Regions from separate parts of the Homo sapiens genome. Here region 2 is linked to region 1. The links are contacts of gene promoters, found by promoter capture Hi-C in blood cells and fetal thymus (Javierre and others, 2016). All regions are on one chromosome and are shown on one strand. Each heading gives the region's core, a stretch centred on a gene start or on the middle of the fragment in contact. The rest is flanking DNA. Distances are from core to core; before and after follow the strand shown. Region 1 holds the start of CDH4 (cadherin 4). Region 2 overlaps MIR646HG (MIR646 host gene).

What was found. Contacts are between HindIII fragments. The CHiCAGO score rates a contact against its expected background, and 5 or more counts as called.
Region 2: a fragment that was not itself captured here is called in contact with the fragment with the promoter of CDH4 in region 1 in 4 of 17 cell types (M0 macrophages, endothelial precursors, naive CD8 T cells and 1 more); the score reaches 8.2 in M0 macrophages.

Annotation. Positions count from the first base shown.
Region 1 is chr20:61,248,882-61,254,313 of GRCh38, reverse strand. CDH4 (cadherin 4) reads right to left here and starts at 2,053. Exons shown (of 16, transcript NM_001794.5): 1 at 1,744-2,053. The coding sequence starts at 1,800. The HindIII fragment of the contact is 4,745 bases long and covers 297-5,041 here.
Region 2 is chr20:60,208,713-60,214,144 of GRCh38, reverse strand. All of the region lies in intron 3 of MIR646HG (MIR646 host gene), which reads right to left. Among named protein-coding and RNA genes, the nearest start is that of MIR646HG, 73 kb to the right of the region's middle. RefSeq lists an enhancer at 394-894 and a silencer at 2,766-3,005. The HindIII fragment of the contact is 2,916 bases long and covers 1,069-3,984 here.

The DNA.
Region 1 (5,432 bases), core at 804-3,303:
TCTCTAGGACTAGGTCCGGAGCCGGTCGAAGAAGGCAGCTCTGCGGGAGGCTGCCGGTGGCTGGGGTGAGGAGGCAGTGGGGGCGCTTCCACCTTCTAGTCTTCAGCCCGCATTTTCACCCTCGGAGCCCCCATCTCCAGCCCAGGCAGGGAGACGGCTCCCCTAACTGACCGGAAAGGGGGTCTCCTCCTGTCCTCCGGAGCTCGCTCGCCTTTCCTGCTCAGTGGGGAAGTCTAGAGCCCATGGCACAGGGCCAGGGAAGGATGGGGTGGACGACAGGGCCCTCCGACCAAGCTTCTGGGAGGGGGCGTGACAGGCAGGAGGAGGTGGTGGAGGGAGAGGCAGTGTGTGCAAGCGGGAAGCCAGCCCCGCTGAAGGAGCAGGAGCACAGCGGTGCTTGGCTCCCCGGCGAGCGCAGGAAGCCTCGGGTGCAGCCCGCACCGGGCAGTGGCGCCTCCCGCCCGCCGCCTCCTCCAGCTCCGCGCGCTGCCGTCGCCCGCCCATGCTTCGACTCCGGAGGCCGCCCCCAGCCCGGAGCTCCAGGCTTCCCGACGCCGGCACCGCGGAGGGCGCCCCTCTACCCCCAGCACCGAGGGAGGAGAGCGGGACGCAGGGTCATTCCTTACGAAAAGCTCTAAACCGCGGCTTTCTTCATCGGCCACGAAGCTCCAAATCGCACCCGCAGCCCGGTGGGAGGCTCAACTCGCCCAGGAAAGTTTCCGCCCGCCCGAAGCGTGTGCCCAGCGCGTCCCCCAGCGCCCCGCGGCCTCGGAGCGGGCCTCCCGCCGCTGGCACTTGTTTATTTCCGAGGTTACAACAGCGCTGCCCGGGAGAAGGCAGCGAGGCCGATCGGCCACGAGAGGGGGTTCCTGCAACTCCCGCCGCCCCTCCGCCTCCGCCCAGGGGCGCCCCCGGAGCCGCCGCGCTCTCTGCCCCCGCGGGCCGCGCACCTCGCCAGGCGCAGAGCAAAGCTGGCAATCCGGCCCGCGGGGCTCTGCAGAGGCAGCGGGAGACCCGCTCGCCCTCCCGGGGCGCCCTCCCGCGCCGCGCCCGCCCGGCGTCCGGCTTCCCGGCCCAAGCCCGGCCCAGCTCCCAGCCCCCGGGGCCCCGCCGGACACGCAGGCTCCAGCCCCGCCGAGGGCTCGGGGGTGAGAGTGCCCCGCAGTCCTACCCCGCCGCCCACCCGCAGCGCGGGTCCTGCCGGCACCCACAGAACTGAGCGGCGCCGCTAGACGGACCCCCAGGCCTTGGGCAGGAGAGGTCGGGCAGGCGCCCCGCACTCGCGGATCCCTGGCCCGCAGCCGCCGGGCGCCCCACGCCTTCAGCCACGGCCGGGGCTGGGCTCGGCAACTCCCGCGGCGCGCGGCTCCCGGGCGATGGAGGGCGCGCCGGCTCCGCCAGTGGAAGCCTGCCCCATGCAGGCAAGCCGAGCTCCGGGTAGCGGCTACGGGCTTTGGGCGTTCGAGGGAGGCTCGGCGGGTCCGGTGCAGGCGGAGCTCCCCGGGTCCTCCACCGAGCCCCACTCCCACCCTGCTCCGCCGCTCCCCGCTGCCCAGGCGGCTTCCCGCTCCTGCCGACCGCAGGCAGCTTCGCCGAGCGCGGGCGCCGGGCTGGATGCAGCGGGGAGCGCGGCGGGGGAGCCCGGGAGAGCCCCGCCGGGTGTGTGAGCGCCCCGCGGGATCCGGGGACGACCTCCCGCTGCCCGGGGCTTCCGAACGGCGGGGGCGGGAGGCGGCAACTTACCCGGAGCGCGCCGGAGAGCGAGAGCAGCAGAAGGAGCACGCCGGCGCCCGCGGTCATCTTCCCCGCCGCCCGCCCGGTGCCCGGCACCGGGAGCCCGCTCCCTGCCGCCGCCGCCGCCGCCGCCGCCGAGACCACCGCCGCCGCTCCGATCGCCGCCGCCGCCGCCGCTCCCCCGCGCCTGCCCGGAGCCTCCAGCCCCGCTGCGCCCGCCGCGCTCGCCGCCCCGGCTCCGGGAGCCAGGCCAAGTCCGGCCGGCGGCGCGTTCCCTCGGGCCGGTGCGTCCGCCGGCCTCGCAGCCGCCCGCGCCTCTGTTCCGCGCGCTCGGAGCTGCAGGTGAAGCCGCGGCCGCCCCGCCGAGGCCCCGCCCCGCCGCCCGGCCCCTGCGCTCGCTCTGCCGACGCGGGCCTTAAAGGCGCAGAGCCCGCGCCCGCGCCCCCCGCGCCGCACCAGCCCAGCCTCTGCCCTCCTGGACGTCTGGAGCCGCCCGGTTGCGGCCGAAGAGGCCAAGGACGCTCGTTTTCCAGGGGAAAAAGGCGCGGGTGTGGAGACTGAAGACAGCGCTGGGGTTTCCGCCCCCACACCCGGGGCACCCTTTCTGGATGGGGCGGTCCCGCCGCGGTCTTAGTCCGACTTCCCGCCCGGGCCCGCGGTGGGAGTGTGCACTTCCATTCTGTCCTTTTATTTTTCAGGTGTCTCCTTGCTAACTCCCCTGACCCGGGCTTGAACCCAGGTCGGGCAGCTCAGGGGTGAGAGTTTCCACCTGGAGCAGATGAGCAGAGGGCCACGCTGAGATTTCAGCCTGTGGGGCTTTGCAGACCCTCCCGCTCCTAGGAAAACTCAAAGCCCTGGCCTGGGCTAGGGATGTACCCTAGGATTGGGGACGGTAGTAATTCCTGTGTGTGCATCAAAACACCCTGTTAGGCCTCAGAAGCCAAGAAAGAAATTAGAAGCTCCAAGAAAGAAAGAAGTGCCCAGACAGGAGCTGTCAGGAGTGTCTGCGCCGACAGGCTGGGCCAGCTCCAGCTCCCTTTGCCCTGCATGGGTGATGGCTGAACTGGGGGGCACTTCTTTAAGGGTTATCAGGTAAAATATATGTACAGGTCGGACAGTGAGTAAATGTTTCTGCACTTTTCCTTTTGGCTTGGAGATTTAAAGAAACGCGGTTTTGTTTGTTCAGATACATCGAATTTTCTTTGTCTGGGGTTTCAGGGACTCTGTGTCCAGAATACATTAGTTCTGGTTTAAGAAATAGGTTGCAAAGGAGAGGGTGGAAGATTGAGTGACACTGTTGAGCTCCAAGATCAGAGTCCACTTGGGCAAGCCAGTAGAGAAAGCTACAGAGCAGCCGCTTCCCTCTCTCCCTCCCAGAACCCCCACCCTTGGGGGCAGGGTGGTCTCCCGGTTAGAGCTCTGCCTTACGCTTAAGGAAACCAGATTTTAGATAACCCCAGAGGACCAGAGTAAGCACTACATCCGAGAGCACAAGGCGAGATTCGGTTTTGCAACTTAACTATGGAACTAGTCAGGAGACACAAAATCTGCCCCAGCCTGGACTCCTATCAGTTATGGCCTTGTCCCACTCCCCACCTAGCCGAAGAAGGAGAGGTTACCAGTTGACATGGCTGGAGGTTTAGACTCACTCGAAGGTCCTGCGTAGCCAGTGAGGTTTCATGAACAGATCCATCCAAAATCCTCATGGACAGAGAATTCCATTCCTCGGCCATGTGCCCGTCCTTTGGGAAGACGCCCCCTCTGCTTTCCTCCTTATTCAAGGTGCTTCACCACTGCTCGAGCGACATCAGAAGCTGTCCAAGACTGCTTTAGACACCAAGACAGCTCTCTTGTCTTGTGTCCCTGGTCTATTTTCTTAAAATATCTGTCGCTGGGGATACACCTTTGTCTGCAGGAGGCCTGAGCATTATGCGAGTTATTTCTTTGGAGAGGCATCACAGACCCCCGCATTTGCTCCAACGTGCTCTGCGAAACTGTTGAAGCGCTGAGGAGCGCGCCAATTTGAAAAAGAAAAGGTATGAGTGTGTGGCAGGGAGACTGGGGTCCAGGAGCAGGTGGGTCCTGAACTCCAAACACTGTGTTAAGCACATCTCCCTCTACTACTGAATGAATCTTGAGTCTACTGCAGCGTGATTTCCAGAAAGGGTAGAGTTTGACAATAGCCTGTCCTTACAAGGTGCTAGCTATGTGCCAGGGACATGTGTAGGAGCTTTATGTAAAGTTGCTCTTGGAGTCCTTCTAACTCCACTATACAGTCAGGCAGAGGAGGGTGCAGAGGGCAGGCACGGGGAAAGCTGCAGTGCCAGCATTCTCACCCAGAGCTGGGACCCTGGCACACGCAGCATGGCCCCAACTTTGTTCAAAGAAACCTTCTTACACAGCTGTAATGTCTTACGGGAACTCGCATTTTCCGAAATACATAGTTTCAGAAACACTGCAGTAACTGACAGGAGTCCAGTAGAGAGCATTGGTTTATCAGACTTACTCTGAATGCAGCAGCAAAGATTGCTGAGACAGAAAAGAAAAATATGACCTAAAATACAAAGCAGTGCCTCCAAAGAATGGTCTTCAGCCTGTCACTCTGAGTGTGGTCCCCAGACCAGCAGCATCAAGATCCCCCAGGAGCTTGTTAAAAATGCAGAAACTCAGGCCTTACCCCAGACCTGCTACATTGATTCTGAATGCTGATGGGATTCCCCGCCACGCCCACCTCTGGTCTGCAATCATCTGCAACAAAATCACAGAGAAACTCATGAAAAATGCCAGTTCCTAGGCTCCACCTGAAATCCATGGACTTGGAGCTTTTGCAAGTGGGGCCTGGAAGCTGACCTTGTAACAATCTCTCCAGTCCATGCTCATGCCACTAGCATTTGAGAATCACGGCCTGTCCCACAGACAGTATGTCCCACGTAACAGAGCAGCAGCTGGAAGCATCAGAAAAATGCTCTCTCCTATGCCCCACCCTGGATTTCCAGAACCTGGACCTCCAGGGGTGGAGCCTGGGCCTCTGCCTGGGGTAGCTGGAGAAACCCTGGCACAGTGTTTGGCACATTGGCCAGTGGGACTGTGGCCTGCCTTTGGTCCACCCAGTGCAGGGAAGACCACAGCTGGCCTGGAGGAGGAGCTAGTCTCTCTGCACTTTGGATAAAGAGCCCTAGAAAAATGTGTGCGTTTGTTTCTAAGAGAGATTAAGAGAATGCATTTGGGAGGTAGTGTATAAGTGACTGTTTGCTCTCAACACCTGTAAACTGTTGACAGTAATTGGACTACAGATGTTTGCTAAGCTTGATAGACTTCTCTGTCTCCCTCTCGATGAGGTGAGTCTGGGAAGGGGTTCCTCTTTAGAAGCAAAAACCAAGTGCTTGTATCAGGGCCACATTTCCCTATATTCGTTGGATGTTAATTTGTTTCCTTCCCTATTGATAGTTATTATTGTAGACACTTCAATGTTCGACAAAAAGGCTGTTTTGTACAGAAAGCAGTGAGATGTTGGCAAAAGGTGTGTTCGTAGAATAAAACATTGTCTTTGTGGGCGATTGAAGATATTCAAGGCACTGTAGAAATGAATGGAATCAGCCTGCTACCCAGCTCAAGAAAACTCCCTGCATGCAATAGAGAAGAGCGATCTTAAAGCAAAAAGCAAAGGAGAGATTGAGAGGGGCGAGCAGGCAGCAGAG
Region 2 (5,432 bases), core at 1,277-3,776, 1.0 Mb after region 1:
ACAATTAAGAGTTTGCAAAGTGACCCAAAGAGGGTAAAATATCCTATGAAATGAAAGGGACATTCAAAACTCAGGCTCCCAAAACCATATAGTATGCTCAAGTGACCACAAGTTGCCAGAGAGAGAGATTGATGGTAAACACACCCCTGCTTACCCGTCCTGTGCCCTGGAGGCATTACTAATCAATCATGGCCCTAGGCTCCAGGAAGCTCTGACCTGGCCTTCGAATCCTTCTATGGAGCTCCAGGCAGCTCCCACCACAAGAGCTGGACCATGAGATTCAGAGAGGAAGTGACATCCAGGCTGCAGAGTTAGGATAAGGGGAAGCCATCACTGCCTTTCCAGCAGGGCGTGTTCAGCTTCCATCACTGCTTTAGAAAGGCCCTGGTATTCATGGACAGGATGGATTGGGGGAGGGTAGCAGCAGGTGGCAGAGGTAGTTGGGGGCAGGTAGGGCAGGCAGAGAGTGAGTCCTAGGAGTCACATGGTCCTGATGACAGCTGGAAGGGAAGAGGCACTCGGGGGAGGAGGCTGAGACCAGTAGACATTCCACAGGTAGAAAGGAAGGGACTTGGGGTGGGTGGAGATGGGAAGGGCAGATGGCAAGAAAGCTGTTAACTAAGGTAGCCACCTTGGGGGAGAAGGGGGTTAGAACCTCTGTCTTTGGCCTGGGATCCACAGTCAGAGGCATAGCAGCATGGCTGAGTCGAGGAGGCTGGGCTTGGGCGTCTGAAACGCCTGGGTGGGAATCCAGACGCCCTAGATTAAGCGCTGCCTGGAGCATGTCACTTAAGCTTACAGGACACAGGAAGCAGGAGTGGAATTAGCGACACCTACGAGCACAGGCTCCACATTCGGCTCCTGAGTTCGAACACTGGCCTGGTTCTGTGACCTCCTCAAAGCTGTCCAGCATCCCCAGGGTTGAGCACAGGATGGAGCCCTTCCTGCCAGCAGGAGAAACCCACGTGAGGCCTCCCACGCACCCCATGCCACATGGCACATGACCGTGAAATGATGCCTGCGATATGAATCCCTCCCTCTCCACCCCACTTGCTTTCTCACTAAGCTTCCACCAAGTTCTTGTTACCTGGGTCCTCCCCGGCCCATTCCTTCCTGCTTTGCTGACCTGCCTCCCAAGCCTTGAGTTTGCTTCTGGCCAACATTAAACACTGGCAGGAGGCCCTTTGCCTTGACCTCTTGGCTCCCAGATACCACTTAGCTCTTGACCTCTGGCCATGACCCCAAGGCCTTTGCTCCCTGACCGCTGCCCAAGATCCTTCACTAGGGCCAGGCTCCTGTGTCCAGCCCAGGACCACTGCCACTCAGGTTCTAGCATAATGCTACCAGGTCACCCCTTCAAGTTCCCACCTTTGCCATAATCACTGTGCACTAAACGTGGCCTGGGACATATGGCAGTGCCTGTTCAGAACCCCCAGCCACAGTCCCTTCTTCTGCAAACACCCAGATCTCCCCGCCATCCCCCCCAAACCCTTTAAAATCTGTTTGGTTTTCTTACAATTTATGCTCAAGACACACAGAAATATCCACCATCGCTTTTTCACGGTACCTAAAGAGCTTGCTTTGCTTATGTGTACACTAAAGCTACAGTGACAACAAAACAATTCTATGTCAGTGGAACAAGCAACTCACACAAAGAAGCACGTCAGCTTTTAATAATGCCAAGAAAAAAGCCCTCCGCTGCTGTGCCCACCAGTCTTCCTATATCTGATGCCCATTTAGGGACGCCTGGAAGAACGGCAGCCTGTCTGCTGTCTGGGAAAGCATTCTCTGGCTGGGTTGTGTTACTCCTAAATTATTCATAATCTTGACTGAGATTCATCAAGGTCACCACCTCCTGGAACCTTTGCGCCGAGAGGAGCATGCGGGTGCCTTCCAGGCCTAAAAAGATGCAGGAGATGCAAGTCTCTGAGTGCAAAGGCCTCTGCTAAGCCCTCCGCACCTGCTTCTGGCCTCCTCCGCAGAGGAAGCCAGGCTCATCTTTACTCCGAATCAGAGACCTGCAACACGGCCTGTGCTCATTTCAAACGGGCAGAGAGGACAGTCTTACCACTTACATTTAAAACCTAACTCCAAGCATGTTCTGAACCTGGTAGTTACAGTCCGGGAAGCCTGATTGTCAACAGCTCACACTTTATTCCTGATTTCTGCCTGGGTAGAAAGGCACTCCAGGTCCTTACCAGCTCGAGTCTGTCACTTGAACACATGAGACATACTGAACACACTCGGGGACACACACCTAGAAGGCCCCAGCGTGGGTGCGCACAGGGATGAGGCTCTCCTGCCCAGGAGACACCCACTGCTCTCCCAACACAGTGAGTCTAGTCTCCCAGCCCCATCACCACTGGGCAGAAGCCCTGGAACCAAACACTGGGGGTCTGGAGCCCAGAGGCAGGGCCATCCGGAGCCGCTCATGCTGCAAGGCTGCTGTGGAATTCTCCATTCTCCATGTGTTTCCTTTGGATCAAGAGGTTTTTGTTTTTGTTTTTAGAAGAAGAAATAGAATGAAAAACAAAATACTGAGCTAAAATCTAAATTATTTCTTCTCCTGAAACACACTCACTATGCACATTGATGGAAGTTCTCAAAGACTTATGTTCAAAGGGTGGATTTCTAAGGATTTCAAAAAAGACGGTCAAATAGAATCTTTTCTTTCTTCCTTCTGAAGAAGAGTGGATCACAAAGTTATCTGAGTTGTACAGCCAGGAAGGTGAAGAAACATAGATTTGGGTCGTCTCGGCATAAACATAAAAATGCGGCAGCCCGCTTGCGTGCTGCTTAATTTCTTTTTGTCTTAGAATTACCACTCTGCCCCTCGGCCTGAGTGACAGGCGCGAGGCAACAGCGCCATCTGTAGGAGAAACTTCACAGCCCAGGCAGGACGCTCAACCCTGTGGTTCAGCCCCGTCCGACACTTTCAGGATTCAGAAGCTCCGATACCAGCACCCCTTCCCCAGCACACACACACACACACCCATCCCTGGATGAGCTGAATGCCCAACTCGGTCATCTAAAGAATAAATGGGCCAGGCACAGTGGCTGACATCTGTAATCCCAGCACTTTGGGAGGCCGAGGTGGGAGGGTTACTTAAGTCCAGGAGTTTGAGACCAGCCTGAGCAACATAGTGAGACACCGTGTCTACCGAAAATAAAAATTAGCCTGGCACGGTGGCGTGGCATGGACCTGTAGTTGTAGCTACTGGGGAGGCCAAGGTGGGAGGATCGCTTGAACCTGGGAGTTCCAGGCGGCAGTGACCTGTGATCACGCCACTGCACGCCAGCCTGGGCAACAGAGTGAGACCTCGTCTTTAAAAAAATAAAAATAATAAATAATAAATGGTTACTATTATGTTGGAGGAAGAGTTAGTAAGATCTATCACTTTTTTAATTGGCCATTTCCTCTAATCTAGCAATTATTCCAATTCTAGAGGTTTATCTTGCATAAATATTAGCTTGTATGCAGAGATAAAAATCCAAGGGATACTCACTGCAGTGTTCGTTTAGTAGTGAAATATAAAAGCAATGTAAACATTGTTAATAGGACTGGTAAAATAAATTAAGGCCCTCTAGGGCACAGAAGCCTGTGTGAAATTTACCATGAACCAATTTGCCATGAACCAGGAGTTATGCACGTAAGGAGACTGGACTGTTTGCCATAGTAAAATTTCCAGTTACAAAAGCAGCTTTGCCAAAATCATGTAGAATGTGGTCTTTCTGTAAAGATGTGTGTTCTACACACACACACACGCACACACACATAATATCTGGAAGAATGTGTTCTACACTGTGATGTTACAAACAGTGGCTATCTTGGGGGTGGGAGGAAAAGGAGGAAATTCACTTTCTACTTTGTACATGTTTGCATTATTTGAATTGTGTTGCAAACATGTACTAATTTTGGATTTACTCTCACGGTGCTTGAGGACATACTCGAGTCATCCTCAGAGTATCTCTGGAAGGCAAGCTTTTTGGGTCCTTGCATCTCTGCAGGGTTCCATTTTGCTCTCTAACCTGAATGTGATTTCGGCTCAACACAAGATCCTACGTGCAAGCCAGCTTCCCTCAGAACTGCCAAGTCCCACATCATCTCCTAACATCTGACACTGGCAGTGAGAAGTCTAATGCCGATCTGAACTGTGTTTCTTTGCAAGAAACCTCATTTTTCTTTCTGGGAGCTTTTGATATTCTACTCGGCCTTGGTTTTCTGAAAATTCAGCACAATGTGTCCAGCGCAGGCCTTTCTTATTTCTCCTGCTCCCAATGCAGTGGGTACCTTCAATATGATGACACGTGTCTTTTTGTAACTCTGGAAAATTTTCACTGATTTTTTCTTTTCAATTCCTTCTCCACATTGCCTCTTTTCTTCCTTCCCAGAATTCTTTAACTAGATGTCCATCGTGGAGATTCATTCTCTATGCCTCTTATCTATCTTACATTCTCTCATCTATCTTACACATAGAATGTTGGTGCATTCTAGAAGAATCCCTTAAGCTTTAGCTATATCCATTCTGCTACTCAGCCCATGCATGGAGCTTAATACAGCATTTCAATAATCCCATTTTTAACTTCTTAGATCTCTGGTGGATTCATTTACATCATAGATGATGCTTTACATACTTGAATCTCTCCAAAGTACCTAAAGTTGCTCCATTTTCTTCAGTTTGCTGGGTTATTCCCATTCGTTACATTTTGGTTCTTCAGTTGGATGCATTTGGAGTCATGCACCCCACTGTTGATTTCTCTCAAGTGTCTGCTGATGTGTGATGATTTGCTTATCTTTATGTGTTAAACGCCCTGGTTTCCTGCCTGGTCCATTTATTGATGCCTGCTTTCTGAGATTGTGGGCAGGGGCAGGGCCAGCTGCTGCTGGCTGACAGATCTTGTTTTCTGGGTGTGGGAGCCACCCTGGCTCTCTGGAGGTCACTGACTCACTGGCTTTGTGACCTGGAGCCCTCACTACCCGCTTTGGCCTCAGGCAAATATCACTCCTACTTGACACTGTGGAGAGATGGAAAGAGCCTCCTCCCCGAATGAAGACCCTCAGGTAACCTGCTTGGCAAAGCCCCTGAACCCCACCTCCACCCTCCCGCCTGCCAGGTCTTCAGCTCTGGACTCTTTCCTGCCCTTCCCGGACCTTTGCCTGTGTTTGCTCTGGCTTCGTTTCTCTGAGTGGCTGATTTTATTTGCCTTTTAACTTTCAAGACCTCCTGGTCTACTGTTGTCACTTTATCTCGTTTGGATTATAATTTGCACTGTCGTTTTGCTCTTCCCATATGATTTGGGATGGGATTTAACATGTAAGAAAAATAAATACTATTTCTGTGGTTACATGACTTCCCCAGTGTAGAGAGGGCCAGGAAATGTACGAAGTCATCAATACTGATGCCAAAGTGTGGTGTCGGAGGTCACCATCC